Linked DNA regions of Homo sapiens: regions 2, 3, 4, 5, 6 and 7 are each linked to region 1. The links are contacts of gene promoters, found by promoter capture Hi-C in blood cells and fetal thymus (Javierre and others, 2016). All regions are on one chromosome and are shown on one strand. The core of a region is centred on a gene start or on the middle of the fragment in contact, and the rest is flanking DNA. Distances in the headings are between cores, read along the strand shown.

Region 1 (2,700 bases), core at 71-2,570:
CCAGCTACTCCGGAGGCTGAGGCAGTTTTGTAGCCACAAAACTGGCTGCCGTGTCTGACTGGAAATTGCTCCCCTGGAAACTTGGCCACACCTGGCGGTGCATATCTCATGGTTCTGGCTCTGGCTTCTGCTTAGAACCCAGTCAGCATCTGTTCCAGCATGGGAAGCAACTGTTCAGCTAAAACCAAGAGCAGCCTGAAGGAAGTGGGGACGTAGGAGACTTTGTAGGTGCTCACACCCAGACAGGAGAACAAAGGTTTGGTAAGGGCTCAGACCTTAGAGACGGGTTCTCGACGATGTGCAGCGCATAACGAGGAAAATACTGACCGGAGGGGGCCGGTCGTAGGGCTGGGGAGCAGGAGGAGGGCAAAGGATAGAGAGGGGGTAGATAGGGAGTAGATAGGGGGCGGCAGCCTCGGCCTCAGTAAGCAGGGGCTCAGGGAGCAGATGTCTGAGACTGCACCACGTCCGCTATTTTGAGGTTTGGCTTCTCTTACTGCCACGTGGTGCAGAGGGAAGGCGCCATTTGATGCGTCCAAATCCCGAGTGGGAAGAGAAGATACGGATGAGGGAGATGGATGTGTCTGTGGTGACTCTTGGGCACTTGTGCCGTTCAATCCTGTCACTCTCAAGCTGAAGAACCCAAAGCAAACGCCAGGTTTACAATACCTGCACTATCACTCATTAGTGGGAGGGTCAGGCGCCACCCAACTCTGGGCTTTTATTGGTCATGTCAAGAAAAAAGCGAGAGGGACAACTGGGAGCCTCCTTCTGATTGGTGGATTCCTGCTAGCCCTCAAGTCAATCAGAGTAGAATGTACCGCCCTCCTTCCCACTCTGGCCCCCGCGGGAGACATGTTAGGTAGCGGGACGCCAACCTTGTCACTCTTCTGAGACCGCCACCCAGTAACACGCCCTGCTTTCCTCCGCCGCCGCCGTCTCCTCCATCAACTGTCTCCTTCTAACATGTTATTGCAGTTAATAAAAAAGCGTTCTTTTCTTCACAAAAGCAGTTGTTTCATTGTATAATGTGAGAAGTCTGCGTTCAGGCGGTTAGACGCAAAGGAGTGGAATAAGTGCCCTGTTCAGCCTGCCAACCTTCGGAACCAGCCAACAGACTCGGTACTGACTGCCATGATCCAGTAAGCACCCGACTCGGGTCTCTGGCAGCCTGAGTGGATTTTGCGTGACTTTTGGTCCCTGGCGGCTCCTGTAGCGTCCCCAGTTACGGCGCCCATAGCAACCGGCTCCCTAGCTAGGCGCCCCCGGGTTGCCAGGGGCCGCACCAGCTTTCCCGTCCCGGGCCAGCGCAGGCGCTCAGGCCTCGGAGGCGGGGCGATGGCCACCTCCCACCGAGTGGCGAAGCTGGTGGCCTCCAGTCTCCAGACCCCGGTAAATCCCATCACTGGAGCGCGGGTCGCCCAGTACGAACGCGAAGACCCCTTAAAGGCCCTGGCGGCAGCGGAGGCGATCTTGGAGGACGAAGAGGAGGAGAAAGTGGCTCAGCCCGCTGGGGCATCGGTAATACTGGGGCGGGACTTGGGCTGGGACCTCGCATGGGCTGGGTGCAGGCTGAGGGCTGTCCGGTTCCCCGCCCAGCTGAGGGCAGGCTGGTAAACGCGGGTCCCTGTGCACATAGTCCCTACTTGGTGGTCCTGGCCCAGCCCCTTCTCTACGCTCACGAAAATTACTCTAAATCGAGGCGTTGAAAAGTGTTTTAATTTTCACCAGTCTGTTGTAAAAGCTTCCTAGACAACATTTATGTTACTCTGCTTCTGGCAAGTGCAAAGTATAGAATTTTACTCTCTACTCTCCAGCATCTCGGGAATGGATATATAGAGATATATCTGGCTATATATAGTAATTTGAGGAAAACTGTTCTGTCAGGTGTGTTTCGTTATTACCTTAAGATCTTGGTTATAAGCGGATCTCAACATAGTGCTCTAAAGATGTGTGTTTAAAACCATCACGTGTTCACTGGCTAAATCAGACACGGATACAGATAAGCAAATCACTGAGGTTTCAGTGTTTCCTAAACAGCTCTTTAGGGTACAGCGAGACGGCCTTTTCACTGATCAGTTTTCATTGTTAAATCTGTTGTGGACACCAGTCCAGCAGGTAGAGGGCAGGGTCTGCCATCTGCTCAATTCACTTAAAAGATGGGAATCTTGGCCGGGCGCGGTGGCTCGTGCCTATAATCCCAGCACTTTGGGAGGCCGAGGTGGGCGGGTTACGAGGTCAGGAGTTCGAGACCAGCCTGACCAACATGGTGAAACCCCGTCTGTACTAAAAATACAAAATTTAGCCGGGCGTGGTGGTGCGCCCCTGTAATCCTAGTTACTCGGAAGGCTGAGGCAGGAGAATCGCTTGAACTTGGGAGGTGAGGGTTGCAGTGAGCTGAGATCTCAGACCCAGTCTCAAAAAAAAAAAAAAAAAAAAAAGATGGGAATCTTGAATTTAAACTAGCAATCTGCAGATAGAAAAAATTTCCTAATACCATGTGTCCAAAGCTTCTCAGACACCAAACTTATGATTGAGGACTAACTGAAATCACTGGATATTTTGGAATTCTGATCTCTTTAATCTACAGTAAAATTGTTAATGAGAACATCTTTAGCAACACCTTTTGTGACCAATCTTTCACCAACAGACAAACAACTTGAAGTTATCCAGAGTAAGGCAGACTGAGACCCTGAACAT
Region 2 (2,700 bases), core at 5-2,504, 430 kb after region 1:
TACCCTATAGGCACTGGAGAACAAGATCTTAACAGGAAGACAGCTGGAAATGAAAAATGTAGATTGCATGGTCCCAGCCTCAGCATCACAACGGAAGGCTGGTTTTGGAGATGAGAGATAATCCCAGAATAAGTGGCAAAGTCTCACTGCCCCCCCCACCCCTTACATCTGTCAAAAATCTGTTCTTAAGTCCATATGAGTTATTAATTAAAAGTAGACTTATTTTCTTTGGAAGCAAAAGAATGATTATCTGAAATGTTTGCATTTGTAGCTCTTGGCTTTATTTTGAACTGTTGGCTTTAATACTGGTTTAGCATTATTCATAATTTTAAAATTTCTTTTTTATTTCAGTATCAGATGTAGAAGGTGGTGATGGACTGCAGCTCAGAAAGGAACATACTCTCAAAATATTTACTTATATCAATTCCTGGACACAGAGGTATGCATCTTTAGGTATTTCGAAGACTAATTTTTGTGAGTTGTGTTATAAGTTGCGATTTTTATTGTCACATTTTCTTTTTAGGGTGTTGGGTTAGATACCATTAGTTACTAAATGACAGTTTGTCAATATTTATTAAATCTTTACTCATGAGGTCGATCATGATTCTGTTTTTAAAACATGGGCATAAATATCAGTTTCTTTCTTTGACCCCTGCTTATTTAGGGATATGAGAGTCACAGAAATTCTGAAAAGTAACTATTTTGAGAGATTAAATAATTTTTATGGTATAGCTAAAGGCTTGTAACAATCTTAATCCTTAAAAAAGAAAAGTCATTGTGGTAGGGGATACTTTTAAGCCACTTAATATCTGTTCCGTTTCTATAATTATGTGTATTAGACCAATTTCTAAATAATACATATATTGAGACTATAGGAAATAAAATTTTAGGAAAACATGTTAATATAATCAAAGTTTATAAAAAGGATTCCTGTTCCTCAATGTGATTTTAACTAGTCTTTGCTAATAATTTTTTTCCCTTGAATAAACCAATGAAAATAAAAATTACTTTAACTTAAACTTAGTCCTTCTAAAAAATTTTATGGGTAAGAATGTTTGAAGCATTGTGTGCAGTAGCCAATGAACATGTTAAATGCAGTGATACATAAATGAATGTTCTGAGGTATACAGTCTAGCTGAACATAGAGTTTAGCTGAGTAGTTTAACTTCAAATAACATTTGCTCTATGGTAATATCCTTTTTTCCTCTCTCAGTAGAGTTGGCAGATATACTTGTTGCAAAAGACTTTGTAGATTTTATTTATGTAAACATTCTGTACCATCATTATTGACATTTCTTTTCTGAGTCTCACTGAATTTCAGTAAGTTTAGGAGTGGTTGCTGTTGCATTAGGGATGGACTAGATGAATATTGCATAATACTAATATGTTTATGATTGAAGATGAACTTTAATAGTCCACAATGATTTGCTGAGAAATGTTGTGTCTGAGTCATAATCTTGAGTTTTAATTATTGTAACTACAGCTAGGTGGCAACATGTTATACTAGGAAAAAAATCTACACTTCTGATTTCAGGATCTATAAGTTTGCCACTGAATAAAATGAAATCCAGAGAAACAAAATCATTCTCCTAAAATCTCATCACTAGTTATTGGTAGAGATGGGGTGGGAGTTATATGTTCCCATTCCTAATACACTTGTATTCTAGCTTATTTTTAATCCCTGTATTAAGAATTTTTAACCAAGAGTCTGTGGATGGGAATGAAATTATAAAGGAGATTTTCATATGTGCAGTTTTAGGCAGTAATTCTTAGGTCTCATCAGAATATCAAAGTGTTTGCCTCCAAACCACCGAGAGCCTGTGGTTTATCTCATGTTGCCCTAGAATGTAGTGGTTAAGAAGAGTGTGGCCTGGCCGGGTGTGGTGGCTCATGCCTCTCACTTTTGAGAGGCTGAGGTGGAGGATCACTTGAGCCTAGGAGTTCGAGACCAGCCTGGGCTACAGGGCGAGACCCCATCTCTATTTAAAAAAAAAAAGTGGCCTTGGATCTAGATAGACATGGATTCTAGTCCTGCTTCATCACCTGTGAACGAGTGATGATGACAAATGAGTTAAGTTCTGTAAACTCTCATTTCCTCATTGGTGGAAATAGAATAATAATAAAGCTACTACTGTCTTAATGAGATTGTAAGAAAACAAAGTGCTTAGCACTGTATTTGCTAAAAGGACTTAATAAACACATATTTTAATTAAAATTGTTAAAATTTGTTTTGGAAAATGAAATATAAATTAAAAGATGTAAGCTAAAGTATGAAAGCTAAGCTGGAGAACATTGAATAATTTGTAATTTTGTTCACCTGTCAGTAAGTATGAACAGTTGTTAGCTCGTAGTAATAAAAGTGGAATGTTATACTCTTAATTGTGCATACTCTTAATTGTGCTGATAGAAGGGAGAACAGGTAAAAATAGTTAGATCACAGTGCCTTGTAGTGAAAATTTGTCTATTTCCATCTTCCTCTCTTCCTCCCCTAAATTATTTTCTTGAGCTTCAGAAAATATTGTGGCCTAGATTAAGATTGTCGTTCTAATTAGCGGATAAACAGGTACTAATAAAGCATGGATAATCTGCAAAATGCATTCTTAACTTGGGGCCCGTGGACCAAGTGAGTCCATAAGTGAACCTTAGCGTGGAGATAAACTCATGATATTTCATACAACATGTTATTTATAAGTTTCCTAG
Region 3 (2,700 bases), core at 123-2,622, 360 kb after region 1:
TAAATTTTCTTTCTTTTTTCCTTGAGACAGGGTCTTACTCTGTTGCCCAGGCTTGAGTGCAGTGGCACAATTACGGCTCACTGCAGCCTTGAACTCCCAGGCTCAGGTGATCCTCCCACCTTGGCCTCGTGGGTAGCTGGGACTACAGGCATGCACTGCCATCACACTCAGCTAACCTTTTTCCCCCCCTTGGTAGAGATGGGGTTTTGCCAAGTGGCCCAGGCTGGTCTTGAACTCCTAGCTTCAAGCGATACGCTTGCCTCAGCCTCCCAAAATGATTTTATATGTGTGAGCCACCACGCCCAGCCTGGTTAAATTTTCATAGTGAGACAGATTCTTGACCAGAAGATTGTTAGGCTGTTGTCCTATGTAAAATTATTCCGAACAAACAAAATCAGGTGTTTTTTGTTTTGTTTTGTTTTGGGGTGTGTGTGTGTGTGTGTGTGTGTGTGTGTGTGTGTGTTTGTTTTTTGAGATGGAGTTTCACTCTGTCGTCCATGCTGGAGTGCAGTGGCGCAATCTCGGCTCACTGCAGCCTTGCCTCCTGGGGTCAAACGATTCTCTTCCTCAGTGGCTATGATTAACAGGTGCTTGCCACCACGCCCAGCTAATTTTTTTATTTTTAGTAGAGACGGGGTTTCTCCATGTTGGTCAGGCTCATCTCCAACTCCTGACCTCATGATCCGCCCGCCTCGGCCTCCCAAAGTGCTGGGATTACAGGCGTGAGCCACCACCATGCCTGGCCAGTTTGGGTTGTTTGTTTGTTTGTTTTTTGAGGTGGAGTCTTCCTCTGTCACCCAGGCTCGAGTGCAGTATTGCAATCTCGGCTCACTGCAACCTCTGCCTCCCAGGTTCAAGCAATTCAAACCTCCCAAGTAACTGGAATTATAGGCACCTGCCACCACGCTTGGCTAATTTCTTTGTATTTGTAGAAGAGATGGGGTTTCACCACGTTGGTCAGGCTGGTCTGCAACTCCTGACCACAAGTGATTGGCCTGCCTTGGCTTCTCAAAGTATTGGGATTACAGGAGTGATCCACTGCACCTGGGCCAAAATCAGTTTCAAGACGTTTGTGAATTGCTTGTGTGTGGTTTTCCTTATTAGGGTGTATAACATAAACGTTAAAATGTCTGCTTTTTAAAATAGGTTCATACGTTTTATGAAGCTGTGGGGTACATGATTGGTGCACAAACAGATCAAACAGTACAAGAACACTTGATAGAAAAGTACATGTTACTCCCTAATCAAGTGTGGGATAGTATAATCCAGCAGGCAACCAAAGTAAGTATTTCTACCTTTTCTTAAAAGTTTTCATGGGATTTAACAAGACGTGTTCTTTACAAATGTATTGAATTCAAGCCTTTTAACATGTATGTGTGATCCATAAGTGCTTTTATGTGTGTCTTTCTATAATTTATTATCTGGGCGAGGTGTGGTGGCTCACGCCTGTAATCCTGGCACATTGGAAGGCCGAGGCGGGCGGATCACCTGAGGCCAGAAGTTCGAGATCAGCCTGGCCAACATGGCAAAACCCCGTCTCTACTAAAAATACAAAAATTAGCTGGGCGTGGTTGCACATGCCTGTAATCCCAGCTACTGAGGAGGCTTAGGCAGGAGAATCACTTGAACCCAAGAGGCAGAGGTTGCAGTGAGCCGAGATTGAGCTACTGTTCTCTAGCCGAGACGACAGAGCAAGACTCTGTCTCAAAAAAAAAAAAATAAATGAAAAATCTGGGCCGGGCTCGGTGGCTCACGCCTGTAATCCCAGCACTTTGGGAGACCGAGACGGGTGGATCACTAGGTCAGGAGATTGAGACCATCCTGGCCAACGTGGTGAAACCCCGTCTCTACTAAAAATACAAAAATTAGCCAGGCATGGTGGTGGGCGCCTGTAATCCCAGCTACTCGGGAGGCTGAGCCAGGAGAATGGCTTGAACCCAGGAGGCGGAGCTTGCAGTGAGTCAAGAGCATGCCACTGCACTCCAGCCTGGTGACAGAGGAAGACTCTGTCTCAAAAAAAAAAAAAAATACTGTAATTTCCATTCTCATTTGATATTAAAATAGGAATAGGCTGGGTGTGGTGGCTCATGCCTGTAATCCCAGCACTTTGGGAGGCCGAGGCAGGCGGATCACCAGGTCAGGGGATCGAGACCATCATGGCTAACGCAGTGAAACCCTGTCTCTACTAAAAATACAAAAATTAGCTGAGTGTGGCGGCGGGCGCCTGTAAGTCCCAGCTACTCAGGAGGCTGAGGCAGGAGAATGGCGTGAACCTGGGAGGCAGAGCTTGCAGTGAGCCGAGATCACGCCGCTGCACTCTAGCCTGGGCAACAGAACGAGACTCCGTCCCAAAAAAAAAAAAATAGAACTATATTACTTCATTCTTAAGTAGATGTAGACAAAAAGGCGTTTGTGTTCGTTTTTACCATTTGGGATTATAAATATGGTTTAGGGTAAGGGAAGCGTAATGGCTTTTGCTTTGGTAATTATGTGGATTTTTTTTTTTTTTGAGATGGAGTTTCACTCTTGGTGCCCGGGCTGGAGTGCAATGGCGTGATCTCGGCTCACTGCAACCTCTGCCTCCCGAGCTCAAGCAGTTCTCCTGCCTCAGCCTCCCAAGTGGCTGGGATTACAAGCAAGCACCATTGTGCCTGGCTAATTTTGTATTTTTAGTAGAGACAGGGTTTCTCCATGTTGGTC
Region 4 (2,700 bases), core at 69-2,568, 470 kb after region 1:
GAGTGGTCTTTAAAAATGCTTTATGAATTTTTGTGTATTTTCTATTTCTGAATCATTTCAGGTATTTATGCAAGCTCTCGGATCAGGAGTTACGACAGAGTGCAGCTCGTAACATGGCTGACTTAATGTGGAGCACAGTCAAAGAACCATTGGATACAACATTATGCTTTGATAAAGAAAGCCTAGATCTTGCATTTAAGTACTTTATGTCACCTACTTTGACTATGAGGTTGGCTGGATTGAGTCAGATAACAGTAAGCTGTATTTGTTTTATTTTTGGTCATCGTTTATTTGTTTTCTGGTCTATCATAATACTACCCACTATTTATGGAGCACTTCATACTAGGCATTGTGCTAAGTATTTTATGTGGATTACTTTATATGGTCTTCACAAATAATTTCTGTGTTTCTCTTATTTTAAATAAGTCTGAAGCTTAGATTTATATGGATTTATACTGTGGGTCCATTTGATTTCCGGGTCCAACTCTTTCATCATTTTGTTTCTGTCTTTTTAAACTATTTAGGTTTTTATGTTTATAGATGTTTTGAGAAAGAGGAATAATTGGAGGGCTTTATAAGCAGTTAATTAATTTTCCAGGCAGAAACCATAGATTATTGGGCCGTAGGCCAAATTTTACTAAATGTTTGTTTTGAATAGTCTTAAATACTGTTTTTAAATAGGACAAAGTAACATGAAAATCTGTATTCTTGGCTTCTCTTGGTGAGGGGGTTGGAAGAAGGCCTGGTATTCTTGGGTCTGTATTCTTGCATAACAACAGTCTGTTAGAACTAAGTAATTAACTTTATCCCTCAGAATGAATATGCTTTCTCCGGTTTGTTGCAGTCCCCATTTGCTTTACTCCTTTACATTTCTGGGTTTTTGTTTTGTTTTGTTTTGTTTTTTGGTTTTTCTTGGAGATGGAGTCCCATTCTGTTGTGCAATGGCATGATCTCGGCTTACTGCAACCTCCACCTCCTGGGTTCAAGCGATGCTCTTGCCTCAGCCTCCTGAGTAGCAGGGACTACAGGTGTGCGCCACAACACCCAGCTAATTTTTTGCATTTTTAGTAGAGATGGGTTTTTACCGTGTTGGCCAGGCTGGTCTGGAATTCCTGACCTCAGGTGATCCACCCGCCTCATCCTCCCAAAGTGTTGGGATTACAGGCGTGAGCCACCCCACCTGGCCACATTACTGTTTTTGTTTTGTTTTGTTTTGGTAGTGTAGTCACACTGAAAATGTGAAATAGGTGGAGTTTACTTGTGTACCGGGTTTCATAAATATAAAAGATACTTGTTGATATTGTCCCAGATAAATTAAATCTTGAGTGGATTTATCTGGGGAGTCTTTCCTGAAACTTTGTCTATAATGACATATTACTTGCTCTCTTGCGTTAAATTGTTGTGTTTTTTTACTTACTCAGCTTTATTTTCTCCAGTGCACTTAGTGTAATAAAGAATACTATTTGTGGAATGAATTTAGTGTTGTTTTTTTTTTTTTTTTTTTTTTTTCGTTTTTTTGAGATGGACTCTCACTCTGTCGCCCAGGCTGGAGTGCAGTGGCGCGATCTTGGCTCACTGCAACCTCTGCCTCCTGGGTTCAAGTGATTTTCGTGCCTCAGCCTCTGAGTAGCTCGCGTTTTAGGCGCATGCCACCATACCCAGCTAATTTTGTATTTTTAATAGAGATGGAGATTTACTGTGTTGGTAAGGCTGGTCTCAGAGCTCCTGACCTCAGGTGATCCACCTGCCTTGGCCTCCTAAAGTGCTGGGATTACAGGTGTGAGCCGCTGCGCCTGGCCATTATTTAGTATTTTAATATAACAGAAATAGTTTTAGTAATTGGGAAGCGTGTGTCTCTGATTATGTCTTAGATTTTATAATATTAATCTAGTTATTGTGATCTACATATGTCAATCAGTTTACCATGTTAGTATTTGCTGACAAATGCAAGAATAATTTTGGAAATAAAAACCCTTAATTTCTTGTCTTTAATCATAGAATCAACTCCATACCTTCAATGATGTGTGCAATAATGAATCATTAGTATCGGACACAGAAACGTAAGTAGGAGCATTAATTTATATATAAGTATACCATTTTAATGTACAGTTGTTTATATGGTAAATTCTAATTTTTAGATTTAAAATTTTTACTAGAAATTCTTTGCCCTTTGACATTGTGTACAGTTCTTCATGAAGCTTTCAGAACATTATGCTGTCTGTAACATAACTCACTCTCCCTCTTTTTTTTGAGACAGGGTCTTGCTCTGTTGCCCAGGGTGGAGTACAGTGGTGGGACCATGGCTCACTACAGCCTCAAGTTCCCAGGGTCAGGTGATCCTCCCACCTCAGCCTCCCGGATAGCTGGGACCATAGGCGCATGCCAGCATGCCTGGCTAATTTTTGTGATATTTGCAGAGGCAGAGTTTTGCCATGTTGCTCAGTCTAGTCTTGTAGACTCAAGCCATCCACTTGCCTCAGTCTCCCAAAGTGTTGGGATTACAGGCGTGAGCCACTGTGTCTGGCCACATTTCTCTCTTTTAAAAGCGTATGCGAACATATAGTACTATTTGTCACAGTATGAAAGCATACTGTTTATACTGGAGAATTTAGTCTTGAAAAATATGGTACTGATAGTTTTCAGAAAGTACACTGTCTTAGTCCAGGCTGCTGTAACAAAGTACTGTAGATTGGATGACTT
Region 5 (2,700 bases), core at 131-2,630, 390 kb after region 1:
ACTAATTTTCACCAGTTTGGCCACACTGGTCTTGAACTAATGATGTCAGGTGATCCACCTGCCTCGGCCTTTCAGTGTGTTTTATTTTTAAAGCAGATTACTTTATTGAATAGTTTGTGTTGGGTACTTAAGTACTTTACATGCTTTGCATGCTGCTGATTTAATCAGTTCTTTGAGGGAGGTACTCTGTCATCCTTTTCAGATGAGGGAACTAAGGTTTAGAGAATTTATGTGACTTGCTTAGGGTCACATGTGACTGTTTGGTGGAACCACAGGACTTAATCCCAGATTAGGCTAAGAGTTTTTTTTTTTTTTGAAAAGGAATTTTGTTCCTGTTGCCCAGGCTGGTGTGCAATGGCATGATCTCGGCTCATTGCAACCTCCGCCTCCTGGGTTCAAGCGATTCTCCTGCCTCAGCCTCCTGAGTAGCTGGGATTACAGGCATGCACCACCATGCCTGGCTAATTTTTGTAATTTTAGTCGATGTGGGGTTTCACCATGTTGGCCAGGATGGTCTTGAATTCCTGACCCCAGGTAATCCGCCTCCCTTGGCCTCCCAAAGTGTTGGGTTTAGGGGTGTGAGCCATCCTGCCTGGCCTAAAAGTTCTTACTAGTTAACATTGTATAAATTTTATGATGATCTATCTGAATCACCACTGTTCAGTTGGCAAAGTGAAAATTACTGACCGTGTTTTATGTATCTTCAAAAATTCAGACAAATTTCTGTGATAATTGTAGTAGGAATTCAAAAGTGGTAATAAGTATAGCTGAATAAGAATCTTTTTCATTGAATAAAATTTCAAATTTTTTGATTTTTGATTATTTTTTAAGAGACAGTGTATCACCCATGCTGGGGTGCAGTGGCCCAATTATAGCTCACTGCAGCCTCAAGCTCCTGGGCTCAAGTGATGCTCCTGCCTCAGCCTCCCAAAGTGTTGGGGTATGCTGTACCCGGCTGAGAATCTTTCTTAATACTGTTATTCTGCAGTGAACCGTTTAATAAAACTACATGTTTCCAGAGCTTTTTAGATACTATGAGTATATAGGTACGAAATCAATTAGTAACATAACTTTTTCAGTAGACATTTAATCTAAAGTTGGAATTTTTTTCCCCCCTTTGGAGATGGAGTCTTATTCTGTCATCCAGGCTGGAGTGCAATGAAGTGATTATTGCTTACTATAACTTGACCTCCTGGGCTCAAGTGATTTTCCTGTCTCACCCTCCTGAGTAGCAGGGACTATAGGTGTGTATACCAGCACACCTGGCTGCCTTTTTTTTTTTTTTTTTGGGAAACAGTTTCCCTCTGTCTCCCAGGCTGGAGTGCATTGGTACAGTCTCGGCTCACTGCACCCTCTGCCTTGGGGGGCTCAAGCAGTTCTTGTGCCTCACCCTCCCAAGTAGCTGGGATTATAGGCATGTGCCATCATGCCGGGCTAATTTTTGTATATTTAGTAGAGATGGGGTTTCGCCATGTTGGTCAGGCTGGTCTCAAACTCCTGGCCTCAAGTGATCCGCTTGCCTCAGCCTCCCAGAGTGCTGGGATTACAGGGTGTGAGCTACTTTGTCCGGTTCTCCTGAATTGATTTTTTTTTTTTTTTTGGAGACGGAGTCTTACTCTGTGGCCCAGGCTGGAGTGCAGTGGCATGATCTTGGCTCACTTCAACCTCCTCTTCCTGGGTTCAAGCAATTCTCCTGCCTCAGCTTCCCAAGTAGCTGGGATTACAGGTGCGTACCACCATGCCCAGCTAATATTTGTGTTTTTTGTAGGAATGGGGCTTCACTGTTTTGCCCAGGCTGTTCTCAAACTCCTAGCCTCAAGTGATTCACCCACCTCGGCCTCCCAAACTGCTGGGATTACAGGCATGAGCCACCACGCCTGGCTGATTTTCTTTTTTTTTTTTTTCCCCCTGAGATGGAGTCTTGTTCTGTTGCCCCAGGCTGGAGTGCGATGGCCTGATCTTGGCTCACTGCAACCTCCGCCTCCCGGGTTCAAGCGATTTTCCTGCCTCAACCTCCTGGGTAGCTGTGATTACAGGCAACTGCCACCATGCCTGACTAATTTTTGTTACGTTTAGTAGAGATGAGGTTTCACCATGTTGGCCAGGCTGGTCTTGAACTCCTGACCTCATGATCTGCCCACCTCGGCCCCCTAAAATGCTGTGACTACAGGTGTGAGCCACCGCGTCTGGCTGAAAACATGTTTTTGTATAAGATTTCATTTTATATAAAATTTAATATATCTGTTTCCAGTTCTCCCATATTATGAATAATGCCGCAAATGTACATCTTTCTACTTAAATCTTTTATCTACATCCCTGGTTCTTTTAGATTTCTAGACGTGAGTTTACTGTGTCAAAAAATATAAACATTTTTCATTATTTTCATACTGTTTGCTTGCCAGAAAGGATATATTGATCTTTTAGTCGTAGTCGTGCCTGTGTAAGGGCACTTTCACCTGTCTTGAATATTATCCTTTAGAAAGTGTTATTTTAGCAGGGCATGGTGATGTGTGCCTGTAGTATTCCCAGCTACTCAGGAGGCTGAGGTGGGAGGATCACTTGAGCCCTGGAATTCAAGGCTAGCCTGGGCAACATAGCAAGACTTCATCTCTTAAAATAAAAGTTATTTTGGTAGAGAATGTATTAAGCAATTACTAGTAAATTTAACCATTCATATTTTTGTTATTTAATGAATTGTAT
Region 6 (2,700 bases), core at 144-2,643, 300 kb after region 1:
TGGCTCATGCCTGTAATCCCAGCACTTTGGGAGGCCAAGGTGGGTGGATCAATTGAGGTCAAGAGTTTGAGACCAGCCTTGCCAAGGCCGATGGATCACTTGAGGTAAGGAGTTCGAGACCAACCTGGCCAACATGGTGAGACCCTGTCTCTACTAAAAATTAAAACATTTGGCTGGGTGTGGTGGCACAAACCTGTAATCCCAGCACTTTGGGAGGCCGAGGCAAGTGGATCACCTGAGGTCAGGTGTTCGAGACCAGCCTGTCCAACATGGCAAAACCTCATTTCTAAATTACATACAAAAATTAGCCGGGTGTGGTGGCATGTGCCTGTAATCCCAGCTACTCAGGAGGCTGAGGCAGGAGAATCACTGGAACCCTGAGGGCAGAGGCTGCAGTGAGCCAAGATGGCACCACTGCACTCCAGCCTGGGAGACAGAGCAAGACTCCATCTCAAAAAAAAAAAAAAAAAATTAGCCAGGTGTGGTGGTGCACACCTGCAATCCCAGCTACTTGGGAAGCTGAGGTATGAGAATCCCTTGGACCCAGGAGGCAGAGAATGCGGTGAGCCAAGATCATGCTACTGCACTCCAGCTGGGAGACAGAGTAAGACCCTGTCTCAAAGAATAAATCAATCAATAAATACATAAATAACAACTCCCAGGTATTTAACAACAAAAAATCCAACAATACAAGTAAATGAACCCCCCAGTTGTTAAGGATAAAACTTTAAAATTTAAAGAATTAAATTTTAACAAATCTAAACATTAAATTTATGAAACGATGTGTGATTACTTTATTATAGATCCAAGTATTGAAAAAACATTGTTATTGTTTGGTCCTTTTCTGCCTATGGAAATAATCATTGTCTTCCCAGCCCCAGCACAGCACATAAAACATCGTGGGACTCAAAAAAATATTATTTAAGTGAATAATTGACTGAATTAGTATGGAGAATGCTTCCTTAAACTTCCTTAAGCTTCACATTCACAAAATTCCTAGTGAAAAAAATATGTCTGCACTTCTCTGTATACGCTTTCATCTTCAAGAAGAAAAGAATACACAGAAGTACTATCATTGAGCCAGAAAAGATCTTAGGAACCTTCTAGTAGTTTGATCATAATGGCAAAGAGCTCTAATAAGGGCAGAACTGGGAGGAGAATCCACATCTTCTGATTCCAAACATTTTTCTCTGTCCCATTTTACTACTCCAATTTTTTAAAAATGTGGCAGCATTTATACAAATATTGTTTGGTCCTGTGAAATTCACTTTTTTTGGTACAGCTCAAACCTGTCTCTCCACATGTGGAGTTATTGCAGAGTCATATGTCCCCTGTAGGAGCAGAATTTGAAATATAGATGTGGAATTCATAAATAAAGGTGTTCTTGTCCCCTGAGTAAATCTTGTGTGTTTTTCTGTATGCCAGTTATTTCCACAGTATAAGTTGTTTGCTTGAGCCTTCAACAACCAATGAAGTTACGTTATGCATAAGACCTTGGGGGTTTCATGTTTGCTGGGGCCAATAAAAGCAAATTCTCTCATGCTCTCCTACCGAGAACCTCATTATGACGTCCGGCTGGTTGCCTTTTTAGATCTGCATGTGATTCTACTTCTTTCTCTAGATTCCAGGACAGGCAGAGTTTGTCCTGGAAGCTCCATTTACTCTGTCTTCCTTACTGGCTCTCTTTTTGACCCTTTAGGGTCCTTTAGTGGTCCTCTTTTCCTCCCTTAGCTACCCTTCCCCCTAACCCCCACCCTCACCTGGCAATGTATCTTTCACTTGCAAATCTTTCAGTCCCACTAAAGCTTAAATGCCTGAAAGCACTCTTCTTACCCACACCATTCATCTATTAGAAAAACTATAAGGGAGAAAAAACACTGGCTTCATCCTCAGTTTTGCTTCCCTAAAGGAAGAGACCAGAAGATAATTCTTCTAGGAGTTGCCCCTGATGGCCTTAGGGCTGCCTACAGTCCTCTGGGTCCTCTCTGGAGAGAACTGCTTTGGAGTGTGAAAAGACCATGGCAGAAAGGAAAGGGAAGGCTTGTTCTTCCCTTCTTGGTTCCAGTTCATGGAAGGGCACTCACATCTCTCATGACGAGGATTCAGCCAGAGCATCCAGATAGCTGTGCTGAGCTCTGTAACAGGATAATAGGAAGCTGGAAGCCCCAACAGGCCACATTCTACATTTTCAATGGGGTATTAGGAACAAGTAAACTCTTTTGATGGAAAGGTGATGAAGAGCTGTTTAAACGTTCAACGACCCCTTGCTGGTCTTTCCCAGGCTTACTTATTTCAAGGACTACCTTTTGTCTCTTTGTATCTTTCTCTAGCATCAGAGCTGACCCTACTAGAAAAGACTGTACATGACTGGGTGAAGAACTCCATTGACTTGCCTCCAGTCTTTTCTAGCCATGGAGCGGAAGCATGAACTTAGAAGACAGGCCATTGTGGACCATCCTGGATTTTGAAAATGCTAGAAAGAGTCAGTGGATGGGAGCTCTCTAAACCTTTGGACTCATCTGTGTATAGCATGGGTTTCTTGGCCTCCTGGCCCACTCTATTTTCAATTGGAAATCTGAAAAGTTTGCATGTGATAGGGAGGTTTGTATCCCGGTAAGGGAGGAAGAGGCTGAAACTGTTTATACTGGTGTCATTCATAAAATCTTCTTAGTTCTTCTCCATAGCTTCCTTGAGTTGAGC
Region 7 (2,700 bases), core at 67-2,566, 330 kb after region 1:
TATCTGTCCCTCATCTTCATAACTCAGCAGTGGATTTCTCAAGTTTGGAGATGTAAGGCAAAAGTATAATTCTTCAGAATGTTTGGATTGTAGTGATTTATCATTGGCTTTCAGATTTGACTGTCACTTCAGATTTTTGAGCAAAAATACTAAAAAAAAAAAGAAAAAAAATTCTTTGAAGAGACAGGACCTCTGTTGCCCAGGCTGGAGTGCAGTGGTGTGATTATAGCTCACTGTAACCTCAAACTCCTGGGCTTAAGTGACATTTCTGCCTCAACTTTCTGAGTAGCTAGGGCTACAGGTGCGTGTCACCATGCCTCGCTAACTTACCAATTTTTTTATAGAAGTGGGGTCTCCCTGTGTTGCTCAGGCTGATCTTGAACTCCTGGCCCTCCCGCCTTGGCCTCCCCAAAATGTTGGGATTACAGGCGAGGGCCACTTTGCCTGGCCCCAAATAACATTTTTTCAAAGGAATGTAAATTTTTTTTGTTTTAGTTTCATAGGCAAAGTCTTTATGTCTGGGAGAGATTGGATTTTAGGATATTATAGTAACAGATGTATTCCTTTGACCTAACCTGGGCAAAGCATTTATTGGGCTCCCTGCTTCAACCCCCTTGGCAGAAAGATGAAATATGAATTGTATCTTCATCAAGCTTATGCTACCTTTATACAGTTGTAGAAAATACAGGTTAGTAAATAGTAATTTTAGGTAACAGTATCAAATAGGAAGAAGTAAATAAAAAAGAAAGGACAGTGTCTTTCCATTAAAAATGTAAAAAAGTTTGGTTAAATAAGATGAAGTTATCTTTAAGATTTTTATTTGTAACTATATTTATGGTGGGTTTTGTTTCTTAGTGTTTTAAAGGCTTTTTAATTGATTTTTGGCAAGAGGATATATTGTAAGCAGTGCATTGCTTTGACTTACTGAGTCTTGACAATCTGATTTTGTGCCTATAAAATTAAAGAAAATGCTTAGGGTAGTATGTTTTTAAAAGCTAATTAAGAACTTCAGGCATTTGGACAACTCTCTTTTTTTTACATATTTCTCAGACCTAGACATAATAAATAGATATGTTTTTAAAAGTGAACAGGTTAGAAAGCATCACTATTTACTGCTGATTATGAAACATTTTAATAGCATCAAATTTGTAATTTTAGAATTTTGCTTTGGCCTTGTTTTTATTTTGAAAGTTTTTAAGGAATGTTCTGCAAATGTAGTACTTTAGTTGAAATGGCAAAATTTTCTTGAAGAGTGTGAAATGTTAAAATGAAAGAAAACAGCAAAAACATTCACTGTTTGAGCACAATGTAGTTTGGGACAGTCTATATTGTGCTTTGGATAAAATGAGCATTCACATGATCCCTTTGGTTGAAATACTAATGCTCCTATTTTATTGTGTAATGACTAACCATTTTAAAGATGAACTCTTATTCTCAGCCAAAACTTGCAATCTGAGGTTATATGTCTATATATGAATGAGCTTACCTTTCAGATATTATAGCTGATTCTTCCCTAATTCTCTCAGTTGAAATGTACCACAACGGTTTTGTCCCTTTTCTTCCTCCTGCCTATCCACACTAATTGGTCATAGTAATTCAGGTAGTAACTCCTGGGGCTTTATAAATTATTATAAATATTGTTGACTATTTAGAGTGAGTAATCAGCAGGAGGGACAAAATGGCTTGAAAGTGGTATCTCTGTTTTTTAATTTTTTATACTTTTAGTTATAACTTTCAGTATTTAGGAAGAAATACCTGAAAGGTAGATACAGATTGCAACATGCGTTTGTGATTATTTTGACTGTGCACAAAAGTTTATCTTTAAATTAGTAGAAATAGCAACTATAAGGGTGGGGTTAAAATATAAAATAAACCCATGGGTTGTCTTGCTGCTCCTTAAGTAACACACCAGTGATGCTTGTAAACACTTTCTATAGAAAGTATCTGTGACAATACTTTAATATTTGGCCAAAAGCTTATAACTCCTAGAGGATGGTAGGAAGCTTGATAGCATCCAAGCTGCTAAATTCTTAGGAGCCTGTTCGTGTTAAAGTACGTGAGCCTATGAGCAGTCATTTATGCTGTGAATTCATATCTGGCTGCTACTTTTCCTTCGACAGATAAGCCTATTTGGCTGCTAAAGGGCTTTTTATTTGGTTCTTCCTCCTGGTGTGAGCATGTATAAACAGCAGGACGTTATATAGAGTAGCAAACAATAAAATGAGGAAAATGCATGAAAACTCAGTATATGGGTGAATAGATACTTGTTTAATATGTGTAATTAAACTTGGTAGCATAATGTTTTTGAAACTTTAGATGTAAATGTGTGAATGTCTGTCCATTTGTGAATCCTGAGAGTTGCCAGTCCTATAAGCAATATATTCACATGCTTCTATTCTCCAATTTTCAGTACTATGGACTACAAATTTTGGAAAATGTGATAAAAACAAGGTGGAAGATTCTTCCAAGGAACCAGTGCGAAGGTAGGAAAATAAAGAATTATAAATTCAGAGTTTTGTTTTTCCTGGCATTTTTATTGTAGTTGACTGTTTGAGGGGGCATGTAATGAATCTTTAGTATATTTTGCTCTAATGGAGCTTATTGCTTTTATCATGAAGCAAACAGGTCTGTTTGTATTGGTGGGTACAGGAAGGCCACTTACAGGTTATCTTTTGGGAGAAAGAGGAGACTGGACTGTTG

The links. The method cuts DNA at HindIII sites, captures the fragments that hold promoters and counts their contacts. A CHiCAGO score of 5 or more calls a contact.
Region 2: a fragment that was not itself captured here is called in contact with the fragment with the promoter of FAM161A in region 1 in 1 of 17 cell types (naive CD4 T cells); the score reaches 5.3 in naive CD4 T cells.
Region 3: a contact is called between a fragment that was not itself captured here and the fragment with the promoter of FAM161A in region 1, in 1 of 17 cell types (megakaryocytes). The highest score is 5.5, in megakaryocytes.
Region 4: a contact is called between a fragment that was not itself captured here and the fragment with the promoter of FAM161A in region 1, in 2 of 17 cell types (naive CD8 T cells and naive B cells). The highest score is 5.6, in naive CD8 T cells.
Region 5: a contact is called between a fragment that was not itself captured here and the fragment with the promoter of FAM161A in region 1, in 1 of 17 cell types (M1 macrophages). The highest score is 5.0, in M1 macrophages.
Region 6: a fragment that was not itself captured here is called in contact with the fragment with the promoter of FAM161A in region 1 in 1 of 17 cell types (M1 macrophages); the score reaches 6.8 in M1 macrophages.
Region 7: a contact is called between a fragment that was not itself captured here and the fragment with the promoter of FAM161A in region 1, in 4 of 17 cell types (erythroblasts, megakaryocytes, naive B cells and 1 more). The highest score is 8.3, in erythroblasts.

What each region holds. Positions count from the first base shown.
Region 1 is chr2:61,852,680-61,855,379 of GRCh38, reverse strand. FAM161A (FAM161 centrosomal protein A) reads left to right here and starts at 1,320. Exons shown (of 7, transcript NM_001201543.2): 1 at 1,320-1,521. The coding sequence starts at 1,339. RefSeq lists enhancers at 127-176, 917-1,146, 1,387-1,546, 1,707-1,836. The HindIII fragment of the contact is 5,666 bases long and covers 1-1,746 here.
Region 2 is chr2:61,418,485-61,421,184 of GRCh38, reverse strand. It overlaps USP34 (ubiquitin specific peptidase 34), which reads left to right. Exons shown (of 80, transcript NM_014709.4): 2 at 352-439. Among named protein-coding and RNA genes, the nearest start is that of SNORA70B, 2.5 kb to the right of the region's middle. The HindIII fragment of the contact is 2,916 bases long and covers 1-2,700 here.
Region 3 is chr2:61,489,223-61,491,922 of GRCh38, reverse strand. XPO1 (exportin 1) reads left to right here. Exons shown (of 25, transcript NM_003400.4): 17 at 1,147-1,281. Among named protein-coding and RNA genes, the nearest start is that of USP34-DT, 19 kb to the right of the region's middle. The HindIII fragment of the contact is 4,286 bases long and covers 1-2,700 here.
Region 4 is chr2:61,377,723-61,380,422 of GRCh38, reverse strand. USP34 (ubiquitin specific peptidase 34) reads left to right here. Exons shown (of 80, transcript NM_014709.4): 7 at 62-254; 8 at 1,999-2,060. Among named protein-coding and RNA genes, the nearest start is that of SNORA70B, 38 kb to the left of the region's middle. The HindIII fragment of the contact is 1,765 bases long and covers 436-2,200 here.
Region 5 is chr2:61,461,450-61,464,149 of GRCh38, reverse strand. All of the region lies in intron 1 of USP34 (ubiquitin specific peptidase 34), which reads left to right. Among named protein-coding and RNA genes, the nearest start is that of USP34, 8.3 kb to the left of the region's middle. The HindIII fragment of the contact is 4,536 bases long and covers 1-2,700 here.
Region 6 is chr2:61,549,886-61,552,585 of GRCh38, reverse strand. No RefSeq gene overlaps it. Among named protein-coding and RNA genes, the nearest start is that of XPO1, 13 kb to the right of the region's middle. The HindIII fragment of the contact is 828 bases long and covers 980-1,807 here.
Region 7 is chr2:61,522,394-61,525,093 of GRCh38, reverse strand. XPO1 (exportin 1) reads left to right here. Exons shown (of 25, transcript NM_003400.4): 4 at 2,411-2,483. Among named protein-coding and RNA genes, the nearest start is that of XPO1, 15 kb to the left of the region's middle. The HindIII fragment of the contact is 1,322 bases long and covers 656-1,977 here.